2 separate regions of the Homo sapiens genome follow, and region 2 is linked to region 1. Evidence: promoter capture Hi-C in human tissues and cell types (Jung and others, 2019). All regions are on one chromosome and are shown on one strand. The core of a region is centred on a gene start or on the middle of the fragment in contact, and the rest is flanking DNA. Distances in the headings are between cores, read along the strand shown. Region 1 holds the start of NOTCH2 (notch receptor 2). Region 2 overlaps NOTCH2 (notch receptor 2).

Region 1 (7,318 bases), core at 1,649-4,148:
AAACATTCAGAAAAATAAGAGAGACTAGGAATCACTCTCCTCCTCCTCTCCACCACACCAAAAAAAAAGGAATAATAAGAAAGTGAAAGGAAAAATAGTTTTAGGTTAAATTTCATCACCATCTGAAAGAAAATTACTCCGATTTTGTTTAAGCAAGAGAAGAATTCAGCTGAGAAATTATCTAGCAGGCAGCAAAATCAGGGAGTCACTTCCCATTGCAAAGCAAAAGAAAACAAGGAGCAAGAGGATGGTCCTGGATAGCTGTTTAGACAATCAGACATACTGCTAACATCTCCTTGCCTTAGAAACTCCGTGATGTTTAAATTAACAATTGGCCACAAGCCAAACACAGGAACACTCAAAAGTTTAGAAGGGTGTGCTGCAACTGGTACCTTAGCAAAACACAATAATAAATTAAGAGGATTCAAGAAGCCTTCACTGTAGACTCTAAGAAGATTTAAGATTTGTACCGAGAAACGGCTTCTAAATCTCTTCTACTGCATTAGTTTAGCATCTAAAGAACACCTGTCTAAAAATCAAAATATCTAAATCCTATCCTTTGAGTCAACTTGACTAACACTCAACTTGACTACCTAAAAGCTAGCTAATAATCGCAGCACCTCAGCAGAGCAGAGGTGGAGGGCATAGTTTTATGCACTGAGATCCTATAATAAAAGAAGCCCTATGTGTCAGAGTAATCCCATTTCTGATATCATATTATTTAATACTTAATTTTTCAAATCACTTTACAATTATATTTATTATTCCCTACAATTCTCTAAAGCAGGTTATTCCTTTAGTCCTGCTTCATAGGTGAGGAGACTACATATCATGAAGATTAAGTTATTTACCAAAACAAGTTAATGATAGACCAAGGATTATTACCCTCAGACTGTCTCATTGATCATACTCCTCTCTATCCTAAAGCTACACTTAAAGCTTTCACTCAAAGAAAAAGGAAAAGCAAAAACACCATCATATATGCTCTTTATTAAATGCTTCAGAAACAACGGCTCTGCTTCATCACTACAAAGCCTCCTGGTCCACTTCTGAAATTCTTAGTGACCTAGACGTGTACGAAATTTGAACTTTCCAAGAAGTATCTAGTTGGTGCTGAACAACCCAGTACTATTTTCGGGTGATAAATAACCTTGTTCTCTTTTTAAACATCTGCGATTGACATGTCGACTGACTGTTAACAATGAACAAAGACCATATTTTTCTGAAGCTCATCATCTTCCTAACCTTTTCTTTGAAAACAGATGTAGTTCATGTACTAGTTTTTTGGTGAAGGTAAAAATCTTTATTCAGATTAGGCTCAGAAAAAGAAGGGGCTGCTTTCCGTTCAACAAATATGCACAAGACAGCATCCCACTGGGAGCATCAATCTCAGAAGCAGTAAAACACAGCCTCGGCCCTGAAAGGACTTTCTGAACACCTTTGGAGTGTCATCCGTTTAATATACATTATTTTAATTAATCCTATTAGCTGGATAATTTCTTTCCCATTTTATTGGTGAGTTCATATAGCAGAGCTGGATTTGAATCCAGGATTACAGAGCAGGGCTCCAAAGCCCAAGTTATTTCCACTAAAGGGTCTGAAGAAATGTAGAATCTAAAAGTGTGGGTGGGATGGGGAAGATATGATTTGATTCCCTTTCCTTGGTCCAACCGTGTTAGAAACATCCAACCATAAAGAAGCTTTCTAAGGAAGCCCTTTGAATTAACGTATCCACTTTTTCTCACCCGCCCGTGCCCCACCCCCAGCCATGCCAAAGGAGCAGCAAATGCTGCTGCCAGGTTGGAGGAATTGGTGATCGTCACACCACATTCCTGGGTCTGGACACAGCCTGAAACAGCAGCAGAGCTCCGCGCCTCGGAAAGAATAACAGCAGTTGAGATTTTTAAATCATGTGCCTCAGCATGCAGCCACACCAGTTGCCCTACTTCTCCTGCCTCCACCTTTCAAAGACGCGAGCAGCACACACGGCTCCCCCGGACTTTCGGTGGGGTTGGAGTGTCAAAACTCAGGCGCGCCGCAAAACCCCGTCCCCATCCAAACCAAGCCCACACACCCGGCCCATGTGCCGCCCCCTGGCAAAGGCGAGGCTGGCTGCGACGGTGCAGGCCGTTTGGCTTGGCGGCCCTGCCCCCGCTCTCCACGCCAGAATCTGGCATTCCTTCGCTCAGCCCCTCCGAGGCCCGCCGTCGGCTCTCGCTCGACCCCAAGAAACGCGGAACCTGAAGGGCAAAACTGCCCACCTCCCTGCACCCTGGCACTACGAAAAAGGAGTTTCTGAGACTTGCTGCCGGCCTCCCTCCTGCCGAGGAGGCGTGTAAGGGGTCCCGGGCCGCGGGGAGCAGAGGCGGCGGGGAACCCCGGCGGTTGGCGGGGCACCACGGGAGGGGCCCCCGGCGATGTCCAAACTCTTGGGAACCCAGCGAGTGGCCTCGCTCCGCGCCGGCGGCCGAGCCTGGCCTTCCCACACAGAGAAGGACCGAGGGGGAGAAGGGTCGCCCCAGGTGGCAGCCCCGGGCGCCGCGGACAGCGCCCCTCAGCCCGATACTCACCATGCGCGGGGGCCGCGCAGCACAGCCAGAGCGCCAGCAGCGCCCACAGCAGAGCGGGGCGCAGGGCGGGCATCTTCTCGGTCGCCTCCTCCTCCGCCGCCGCCGCCGCCGCCTGGGCAGATCCACATGGGGAGGGGGTCCCGATAGAGGAGCCCCACTCTCTCCTCCCCTCCTCCTGCTTCAAAGGCTCAGGCCCTGGCGCTACGCTCCGAAGCCCAGGCGCAAATGCCTCGACTCCCCGCGCCCCGAGTCCGCCGCTCCTCGGCCGCCGCCTCAGCCGCCGCCCGAAGTTTGGCTGAAACTTTCTCGGGTGTGCAACGAAGCAGCCTCGTGTGTCCTTCCGCCTCAGCCGCCTCCTCCCACCGCAAGCCCCGCCCCACTGTCGCCGCGGCCTCGGCCCCGCCGCCTTGGGCACCCAGGGGTTTCCCGCAGGAAGAAGCGCCGGCCCGAGCTCCGCGCGGAGGGATCTACTACGAGTCACTGGCCCCGTCCGCATCCTTCTCCAGCGGCCCCGGGGGCCGCCGCGCCTTAACTCGATCAGGGCTGCAGCGGCTCGCTGGCTTGACCAGTGCAGAAGGGGCGTGGGGGTGAGGGGGGTGGGGTAGGACTCTGAACTTCAAGCACTGGAGTTTGCCGGGATCGTGAACTTGCAGGGAGAGGCGGTCCTCATCCAGTGAGGTCTGTATCGCCACCTACACCCACACATCCACACACTGCTTTGCTAGCTAGAGGAATGCTCTGGAGTAGGACCAGTGCTGTCAAAGAAGGAAAGTGGGCCAAGGCGCCAAAGTCCATTAAAAAGGAATAGAGCCATCACGGAGTGGTGCTGCCCCATTCATTCATTCATTTGTTCATCCGTGTAGCGAATATTTCTTAAGTGCCTTACTTTGCGTAGCTGTGTGCTTGGCAGTGGGATGATACCAAAGATGCACAAGCAACTTTGAGTACCAAGACTTTGCCGCTGTGGGCTGGGGGATTCAGGGAAGGCTTTCCCAGAGGAGCTGGGATGAAAGCAGGATCTTGAAAGGTCAGTAAAATTTGTATAAGACAAGGAGACCAGCTAAGCTAAGGATATTCGTTGTAACACTGTAATAGCAAAACCTTGAAAACAACATAAATGCCCACCCTTAGAGGAATGGATGAATAATGTATGGTATATTTATAAAATGAAATGCAACACAGTAATTGAAAAGACTATAGCTATTTATGTCAATAGGGATAAATCTTAAAAACTAAATGATAGTGAAAAAACTAATCACAGAGGGAGACAAAGTATACCATTTATGTATATTTTTTTCAAGACAATACTACACATTATCTGTGGATGCATATATATAGATATAGATATTAAGAGACTATAACCAGAATAGTAGTTACTTCCAGGGCAGGAGAGTAGGGGGTGTGATCAAACCTGGGTACAAGTGGGCTTCTAAGAAAAGAGCTAAAAGTAAGAACAGCAACAATAGTTGTATGGACATATCATTCCAGGAAAGAGCCCTCGTGAAAGCAAAGGTACAGTCAAAAGAGTAAGTAAATGAGTTCTGTCTCTGTTAGCAGTGAGAGGAGTCAAGGACGGAAAGGGGGTTGGGACCAAATTATGCAGCCTTGAATGGCAAGCTGAAAGGGTGGGGAGGCAGCTACCTCTTAGGTCACATAAAACTATTGAAAGTTTTTGAACAGAGTTGAGATTGATGGAAAGGAAGATTGCTCTGATAATTCTGTAGAAAATTGATTGTTGGGGGAGCAAGAGGTGAACTGGAGCCCCAGGACCAGTCAAGAGTTGGTGAACAGTCCAGGCACAAATTTAAGAAGACCTGAACTAATAAGGTAGATTTCAGAAGGAATGAATCCGAGACAATGTTAAAGAAACAGAAAAAAAAAATGGAGGTGTGACTAATTGGATGTGGGAGTTTACAATCCTGTTGGGATGGGAAATCCTACCCATAGAACCTCTCCCTGACTCCTATAGGATAAAATTCAAACTTCTAAACATGGTACATACAAGGCCTTTTCGTCATTGGGCCCCATCTCCTGTCCTCCCTGCCCCTGTTGTGAACTTCACACAATAACAGTATTGACTAACTTGAGATTCCCCCAAACATATCTTGCTGTTTCTGTCCCTGTATCTTTTGTTCCTTTGGCTTGGAATGACTCCTGTAGTCCCCTTCCCTCCTCCTCTTAATGAACTTCTAATCATAATTCATCCTTCAGTCCAAAGAAGGCTTTGCCGACACCGCAATAAATTCCTCCCCCTAACAGACAGTCCCTCCACTGTCTTCCACTGCCGCTTCTTTATCTTAACACCGATACTTATTTTTCACACAGGACTCTTTGTATTTCTGTGTTCTCAACTAAGTTTTGAGGTCCTCATGGGCAAAGACCACAGCCTATTAATCCCCAGTGTCTATCACATAATAGATGTTGAACTAGAATGTGAAACAACACTAAGCAAGTACAAGTCAGTATGGGCATAGACCTATGAAGTTCCAAAACTGCATGTTAACAAGCACTTTAGGTAAGCAAGTACCATTAGTGAAAGTAGTCACATTGAAATACTGGAAACCCTTTTCAAAAATAATGTAGTCAAAATATTTTTGGAATTTGTCTTGTGCAAGTATGTTCAGAGAAAGATAACATTATTTTTCAGTTGTTTACCCACAGTGTTACCAGTTCGATCTTCCTCTTTACTCACTAAAGATAATTCATAGTGACTTGGCTGCATACAAATTTTAAAAATCACCTGCAAAGATAAGTTTTGTCACTATTAAAATATATTCAGAAGAATATAAGATAGTTATCCCCAAAGAGCAACTCTAGAAGCGACTGTAGCTATGACAACATTATTAAAATAAATGTGCAGGCCAGGCGTGGCGGCTTATGTCATAATCCCAGCACTTTGGGAAGCTGAGGTGGGCAGATCACCTGAGGTCAGGAGTTTGAGACCAGCCTGGCCAACATGTTGAAAACCCGTCTCTACTAAAAATACCAAAAATTAGCCGGGCATGGTGGCGAGCACCTGTAATCCCAGCTACTCAGGAGACTGAGGCAGTAGAATCACTTGAACCCAGGAGGCAGAGATTGCAGTGAGCCAAGATCGTGCCACTGTACTCCAGCCTGGACAACAAGAGTGAAACTCCGTCTCAAAAAAAAAAAAAAAAAAAAAATAGGTATGCAGTTTCTCAAAGTAACCGTTTTAAAGAAAGCAGCTATTATGTTCACATATAACTTTTGTTGAATATGTTACAATATGAAAACTTACTGCATACATTCTGGTAAGGACAAGAGAAGTAAAGAGTAAATATGAATGGAAGTAAGGGAAAAATATGACTGAAGACATTTTTTAAAGATAAGTTTTAATGATAGAAAAATATGAATAAGGGCTACCAATTGTTTTAGTTTTAATCAAAACTAAAAATATACATCTATGTCTTTACTGATTTAAACTCACATAAAACTGCCTTCCAAAATAAATGCAGAATTGGGCACTTATTTGTTCTCATGTCTGTCCTCTCAGAGCCGATAAGCTGTAAAAAAAACTCTCAAAATAAAACTCTGTTTTATTTTCTGTTTTGCCTCGGTTTCTATCACATAAGTGCTCAATAATATATGTTTTACATAAATGCTGAATGAGGAACATATATATCTATATAAACTGGGGAACAATGCAAGACTGGAAGAATGTCTTGGTGTGTTGGAGAAGTTGAAGAAGAGATTGTGGGATAGCTATGACACATAGATTGAGCTACACCACGAATCTCTCCATGTAACCCAGGAACCCAAGGATATGTGATGAGATGTTTGTGGAAGCAGGAATTAAAAGGAAGATTTCTTTTAATAATGCCTTGCAGTTGCGCAGTGATTTAGACCTTCCAAAAACACTTTTAATTATATTATCTCATTTGATCCTCAAAACAATCGTGGGAAATAGGCACCCCAGTCATTATTATACCCATTTTGCAGATGAAGAAACTGAGATAGAGCTTTAAGTATCTTGCCCAAGGTTAAATAAGTAATTAGTGAGCTGAGACAAACCCCCCACTATTTCTGTCCTCTTACTCAGTCTCACTCCACTGTACCTTTGTGCAACAATGTGAAGCACATCCAAGATGATATTTAGTGTGGGGACCTCTGTGTAGAGGGACACCAGCTTCTTGTCACTTCCATGTTAGCACAGAACAAGCTGACCCACTGTAACTAGGAAACATAAACAAGTGAATAAATTCTTTTAATTTAAAATTTTTTTGAGAGCCTGTTCTCTACAAAGCACATACTAGGCTCTGCGGCAATGCAGAAATAAATAAAACCCAGTCCCTGTTCTTTGGAGATCACAGAGCAGTGAGGCAGGCCAACATACAAATAACATAACTACAACAGAGATAAAGCACAGGGATATGGGAAAGTAGAGAGCACTGGGATTAATTTTGAGTCCACTTTCCTCTCATCCAGTCCCCATCCTGAAAGATATGAACTGTGGTGGCCCACACAGCTGGACTGTAAGCCATGTGACAAGAGTCATTTCTTACCCCTTATTCATGTTTGTAAACTCCACAGTAGTTGGTTCTTTGCCTTGCACAGAGTATGTGCTCAATAAAGACCTACTTTCTGAAAGGTTCACAGAGTTCAGCCAAACACAGGACAAGTTCTAGAAGGCAAGAAGTTAACCTCAAGATTCAAACTAGCTCTGAGAATTAAGAACCAGCCAGACCCTTCCACTGAGCCTAGACCCAATTAATTACCTCTGCTCTAAT
Region 2 (7,318 bases), core at 1,842-4,341, 120 kb before region 1:
CACTTGCATCTTAGGAGGCCACAATGTTTCCTCAAAGCTCAAGATCCAGTCAGTAAAGGCAGGAAGGACAACTGAGGAGTGAGCCCTCGGAGGAGCATTACAGCCCCACAGACCTGGGCACTGAGACTCAGGCACTGACAAAGCAAGGTCAAGTATCCCCTCTGGTCCCTGCTGGTACCTCCAGGACCCACCTGTGTATGGCAGCACACAGTGGCAAGTGTAGCCACTTATGTCATCAAAGCAGGTTCCTTGGTTCAGGCATGGATTTGAGGCACATTCATCAATATTCACCTGGCAGTTATAGCCTGTAGACAAAAGGAAAAAACCAAAAACAGTAAAACTTTCTGACAGCCTCATCAATTTCTAACCAATTCTCTTTAGGGGTAAAAACTGAACACATCAGAAATTGCATTCATTTCTTCAGGCCACTGAAATACCTGTTCATTCATTTCAGCCCCATGTCCCTGAAATACAGTCAGTAAATGACAGCAATTAGTTGAAAAGATGAATGGAAAAACAGTCTATTCTAATGATCTGAAAGCCTAATGCCCCTCCAACTACAAATAACTTCTCAATAATGAAGTTCTTGGTTCAAAAGCTTGTTGCAGGATCTATTTATTATTTATTTATTTTTGAGACAGGGGGTCTCACTCTTGTCATTCAGGCTGGAGTGCAGTTGTGTAATCATGGCTCACTGCAGCCTCGACCTCTCGGGCTCAGCAATCCTCCCACCTCAGCCTCCTGAGTAGCTAGAACCACAGGTGCATGCCATCATGCCCACTTGATTTTTTAAATTTCTTGTAGAGATGAGGTCTCGTTATGTTGCCTAGGCTGGTCTCCAATTTCTGTGGCCAAGTGATCCTCCCACCTTACCCTCCCAAAATGCTGGGATTACAGGTGTGAGCCATCGCACCCAGCCAATAGCTTGTTGCATGATAAACATAAGCTCTTTGTATATAACATTTCTGGTCAGGAAAAGGGATGATGTTTTTGAATACATTAATCAAAGCCTCTGGTTTATGCCCATTTTTTCATAGGCACCATGTCTACCACCCATGTGGTACTTCCTGAAGTTACAAAGCTGTTTTCTCCTGATTCAAGGCATGAAACCTTCTCCCACTAAGAAAAGGATAAAAGGAATAAAAAATTAGTGGAGATAGCACAGTACCCAAATACTGCACACCTTTGCATCTCCAATAGGGCCTGGCACAGAGCCTTAAAGTAGAGAAACTATGGCACTGTGGAAAAGAAAACATGGTCTAGGAATGCAGAGGTATGGGTTCAAGGAGTATTCTGCTGCCCACTGGGCATATAATTTGGGATTTTACCTTTTGAATTTTATTTTGTTCACTGATAAGCAAGTCTCAGAAGATAAAGAAATAAAAGTGTTTTGAAATCTACAAGTTTCTTTGCCAATGTAATACAATATATCAGAAAATTAATGGCTGAAATACAGTCTCAGAAATGTTTCAAGTAATCAAATAAAGTGGCTCTAAAACATGCTGATGTATCACAATAGCATAGCACAATATTTGAGTGAGGAAATCAATGAATAAATAGACAGATGAGTGCAAATATAATGATTTACCCACACGGCTCTCTTTTGTGAGTTTCCAAGAGAAAACTGATGGTAGAAATATAACAGTGATAACTCAGAAGCAGATTTTACACAATTCCCATGACTATCCATTTGTTGGGTAGGCCAGCAGTCCCTCAGCATTTTTGGCACCAGGGATTGGTTTCGTGGAAGACAATTTTTCCATGATCCGGGGTTGGGGGGATGATTTTAGGATGATGATTCAAGCACATCCCATTTATTGTGCACTTTACTTTTATTATTATAATATTACACTGTAATATACAATGAAGTAGTTTTACAACTTACTATAATGTAGAATTGGTGGGAGCCCTGAGCTTGTTTTCCTGCCACTAGACAGTCCCATCTGGAGGTGATGGGAGACAGTGACAGATCATCAGGCACTAGATTCTTATAAGGAGCGCACAATCTACATCCTTCACATGTGGAGTTCACAATAGGGTTCGCAGTCCTATGAGAATCTAAGGCCACCACTGATCTGACAGAGACAGAGCTCAGGCGGTAATGTGAGTGACGGGGAGTGGCTATAAATACAGATGAAGCTTTGCTCCCTCACTGGCTGCTCACCTCCTGCTGTGTGGCCTGGTTCCTAACAGGCCACACACAGGTACTGGTCTGTAGCCTGAGGGTTGAGGACCTCCGGTGTAGACCAAAGATGACTAAATAACTAAGAATATCTCAATGTGTTAAAAAGTTTGTTGAAAGAGTTCTGAACATGTGGATTCTTCCTTGATATTACTACTATCTTAATTATAGTAAGCATAATATTTTCATTCTACTTCCATATATCTATTTGAACTATCATAGACTCAAACCTGGACCAGGAAGCTTATAATTAGACACTTGGCCAATGCTGTAAAACTGGAGTCTTAACTGCTCATCTTAAATATTACCATTTCAGGCTGGGTGCGGTGGCTCACGCCTGTAATCCCAGCACTTTGAGAGGCCGAGGTGGGCAGATCACCTGAGGTCAGGAGTTCATGACCAGCCTAACCAACATGGAGAAACCCCGTCTCTACTAAAAATACAAAATTAGCCGGGTGTGGTGGCATATGCCTGTAATCCCAACTACTAGGGAGGCTGAGGCAGGAGAATGGCTTGAACCCGGGAGGTAGAGCTTGCAGTGAGCCAAGATCACGCACCATTGCACTCCAGCCTGGGCAACAAGAGCAAAACTCTGTGTCAAAAAAAAAAAAAATTACTATTTCAATAGGTCACCTCTCTGCTAGGCTGAAGGTAGAAATTGTATCTATTCATGTTTTTATTCCCCAAGTGCCTTACAAGTCTAATTGCTCAATATGTTTGTTACACGAATGAATGAAAAAGAGAAAAGGAAACTAAGAAGTGAGTCAAGCAGTATGCAACAACAAGAAGACAAAGAGCAGACGCAGAAAGATGTACTTTTGTTTTCACCTTTAAAGCCCTTCTTGCAAGTACACCTGTATCCATTCACCAGATTGTCACAAGTTCCTCCATTCTGGCATGGATTCGAAAGGCATTCATTTTTGTCCACTTCACAGTTGATGCCAACCCAGCCTGCATCACAGAGACACTTATATCTGAAAGAAGACAAAACTTTTTACTATAGGAGGTATAAACGTATGATTGAGTCATAGAGTGAAATACAGGACTTGGTGAAGAAATGGGGTAAACTGATCTCATTTCTACTTTCATGGAACTATCCTTGCATCACCTTGCACATGGTGTGTACCATGTGGCCCTATCAGGTGTATCCAGTAAAGAAACCTTCTTGGTGCTTTCCTGGCTCACTAAGTTAGTGAAATTATAATGAAATTTCTTATGTAAACAATGGTTTCTACAATATATTGGGCCACTCTGAAGGAAACAATATCATGGATAAATCTGCACAATGTATGTTATTATACATAAAACTAAAGTAAAGCAAACATTAAGATCATTAGTTTTTGGTGCCAAATAGATACCTAGGTCACTGTCAGGGACCCTGAGCCACTCTAAGATGCTCCTGGGATATTTCATATCTAAGTCATGCTTTGTCTTGACCTAACACTTGGCTTCAGAAAGCACCTAGGGTATTCTGCAGGAAAAGGCACAGGAATGAAGGTATTTGAATTGTAAATATAATCTCCAATTTGAACATCACTAACACTTAGAATGTGATATCAGGAAATGATAGCTTTCTTATCGGGAGAATTTTAAGAAAATGAGAGATGGATAAGGGTGCCTTGAAGGCTGCTATACTCTGAAACACCAATACTGAGTTAATTAATTTTTAAATAACTTTATTTACTATTTGCCACTAAACACTCTTTATCCTTTCATCTTTCAAAGTTTGGCAAAGGAAAATGTCCAAAGCCATATCCTATGGCAAATGCAGCAAGAGTATAAGAGCGTCTCGTGAGACCTAAGGTCACTCTATGATTCTAGAAAATCACTAACACATCACACAAGTCTGTGGGGCTTAAAAATTGCAAATGTTTTATCAGGGACATTTCTAAAGTTGGCTGAAGCGGCCCTACTTCAGAGCACACACTGGCACTGTGACAGAACAGAGCTGAGCTATGTTTAAGCAGGGGAAAAAAAATCAAAAGCTAGAACATTCTTCAGAAATCATTCCAGTAATACATACTAAAAACATAACTGCCAAAGATTCATACAATGAGTATGGGTTCCTCCCATGAGGTCCTTGCTAATGACCCATATAAGGGAGACATTCCTCCTTATGTTCCATCTAGGTCCTCACTTATGGAAGGGAGGGGCCAGCTTCCATGGATTAAATGGTAATTCAGAAGGCTTTGATGCAGACTACCAAATCTTCAGCAAAGTTTCAGCTCAAAGCCCCATTTGACAACTTCAGGCTGTCACCAGTACTACAAGCCAACTGGCTTAACACAGGTCAATAAGAAACTATCACATGGGGCAGCTACTCACCCACTGAGACCTCCAGTACAGTTTCCATGGATGCAGGGATTGCTCAGGCATTCGTTCACCTGTGAGTAGCAGCTGGGGTGATGGGGTCCCTCGGGGCATATACAGCGGAAACCATTCACACCGTTGATACATGTTGCACCCTTGCGACAGGGATTGGAGGCACACTCATCAATGTCAATGTTACATCTCTGCCCTGTGGAGAAGGGGGACAGTGTTAGTCACATCCTAAATGCTTAGGAAATAGACCCAGAACTATAAGACACGTTATGTTGACATCCTTCATCTGCTCAGGCCATAAGGTGCCTTGAGGCACCAAATGTCAAGATGTAAGGAATTAGACACCCAATAACACTTAATGCCATGCAAAGGAGCAAAGAGCATTGACTTTTGATAATCAAGGAAAGTTAACAAAAGGCTGGAAAAGTGTTATAGCAATTTGGCATTTTCTTTCAACTCAGAAATGGGGAAACTTCACAAGGTTCTAAGAAGAGAATGTCAAATGTTACCAAAGAAGGCTTCTCTTCTTAATGCTGCCCTGAGTACAACTCAAAGAAGCATTCATTAACATGCTTTGTGCCGGTTTAGCACAAATTCATTTTCTCAGCCTCTTACATTTCTATTTATGGTAAATCCAAATTAACTGGAATGCTTAATGAATGGGCTAGTAACTTAATTCAATAATTAAATTGATTGTAAAGAAAGGTTATTTTGTTTTCATTCTTAGAGTCTATTAATCCATTTTTTTTGACCTCAGGAAGTAGAGTCTCAAAGTATAATTTTGTTGTCTTCTGATATTAGAGAAAATAATGCAGTCTGTCACTGCAGACCTATGGTTCTTAAACTTTAATGTGCAAAATCATCACTTTAAGTTGTTATTTTAAGTGGAGATTCCTAGGCCCTATCACCATAGATTGTGATGAATAGAATCTAGCAAACCATATTTTTTTAAATGTAGGTGGTGTAAAAACTAGATTTTGAGAAATTCTGTTCTAGACAATTATTACTTATCATCATCATACAATGTGGATACTGGGAGTAAGTGAAATTGAAGTGAATATGTTGCTCCTCCAAGACATAGCCAAGATTGCTCTTTAAAAAGATGTCTGCTATAACCTTGATATTTCTTAGGCTGAATAAAGTAATACGGGTCAGTTATACAAGTGTTTCCATTTGTTACATTTTGAGTAACTGAGATTTAACTATATATTCCAAAATGATATGAAATGTTAAAATTACCTATAATTCTATAAATGAGTGGCATCAAGCAACTGCTATGAATTTATATATTTCAAAGAACACAATGTTCTGATTCTGATTTTGAAAACATGCATTTTTCTCATTTAAGAAAGAGCAATCCTGTATTTAGAATAGGACATTCCAAATGAAACAGATACCCACTCCTATGAAGTATGAGTATTCACATTTTTTCACCCTCCATTGCTCTCTAAACCATCATTGGTGGTTCTTGTGGTAAAAACCCATAATCTGGAAGTGGCTGCTGTTTTCCTCTTAAGTGTTTTATTAATAGCTTATTTTTAAATACTATTTCCTTGGCCTCAACCACTGATTCTTTGAGCTGTTTGTCAGTGGCACCAAAATATGAACCAGAGCTCTTCAACCACACAGTTAGCCTCGGCCCGTAATATAGTGAAGGATAACAGGAAAAAGGTTTCTTCATTTTTGGTCTTTTCTTGGAAGCGTCTCCTCAGAAGCCACTCCTCCCAAGTTTTCTTTATTTGCTTTTAAATTTATTCTTTGCAGAATAAATTTTCAAGCCATCTTTATCTGAAAGCATTAAATGCAGTCCACTATGTTGATTGACAGCTGTTCCATCAGGAAGGTCCTACCCTCAAGGAGTTTCCACTGAGCATGAGGAAAGTCCAGTGGAAGGCCAAGAAATTTTTTGGGCTAGGTAACTAAAATGAGAAGTTACCCAGTGTTTCTTCTGACTTAGGCACTCAATAAATTGGTGTTTAATAAATGAAAACATGGTATAGTCCACACTTCAGAGTCTGGCATTAGCTAGCAAAAGCGCTATATTTGAGTCCCATTCATTCGTTCATTCAGCAACATTCACTAAGCGTTTCCTACGTGCCAGACATTGCTTTAGACACTTGCTATAAAGATGATTAAACGAGGTCTCTGCCTTCTGGGAACTCACAGTCCTCACTATGCAACTCACTGGCAGAGGCCATGAGTATATACATCAAGGTCTGTCTCTCAGTTGCCTTATTTGTTAAACGGGTATAGTAGAACTTCCTTTCTGGATTGTTATGAGAATTCAGGAAGATAATGGGCATGAAGGTGCTTTGTAAAACTGAAAAGCAGTTTATAGAAGTATCACATAATTCCTTACATTCCCCCATTTAAAAAGGTTCTAAGAGAACAGATAACTTAGTATTAAAACAAAAAAATCCCCTTTAAAGCTGTCAAAGCTATTATTAGAATGATATGGGAAAAATATATTAAAATAAAACAAGAGCAAGAATAAAACTCCTCACATTTACCACTCATGAGTATATACCACAGTCATCTCTAATGTTTTTAGCAGCTGATTAAAAAAATCATCTCAGACATAGGCAACAGTTCCATGAACAGGGGACCACCTAGTAACCAAAACATTCCATTTCTTGCTTATAAGGTTTCATGCTACACCTTAGGTTTATTTTAGAATATTTTTAGCCTATGTTCTCCCTTCTTGGCCTTCCTGGTTTGCTGAATATTAAAAAGAGAAAGAATATGATTCATTGGCATTCTGAAAAAAATGAGTCCAGTAGAAGCCTTATATAAACACACACACACACACACACA

What was found. Contacts are between HindIII fragments. The study calls those that stand out against the background at their distance.
Region 2: a fragment that was not itself captured here is called in contact with the fragment with the promoter of NOTCH2 in region 1 in 5 of the 25 tissues and cell types used here (adrenal gland, dorsolateral prefrontal cortex, mesenchymal stem cells and 2 more).

Annotation. Positions count from the first base shown.
Region 1 is chr1:120,066,764-120,074,081 of GRCh38, forward strand. It overlaps NOTCH2 (notch receptor 2), which reads right to left and starts at 2,899. Exons shown (of 34, transcript NM_024408.4): 1 at 2,571-2,899. The coding sequence starts at 2,643. It overlaps LOC101929178 (a long non-coding RNA gene), which reads left to right and starts at 3,065. Exons shown (of 2, transcript XR_254374.4): 1 at 3,065-3,248. The HindIII fragment of the contact is 15,776 bases long and covers 1,320-7,318 here.
Region 2 is chr1:119,950,533-119,957,850 of GRCh38, forward strand. It overlaps NOTCH2 (notch receptor 2), which reads right to left. Exons shown (of 34, transcript NM_024408.4): 13 at 4,508-4,700; 14 at 3,011-3,156; 15 at 192-305. Among named protein-coding and RNA genes, the nearest start is that of ADAM30, 58 kb to the left of the region's middle. The HindIII fragment of the contact is 5,940 bases long and covers 122-6,061 here.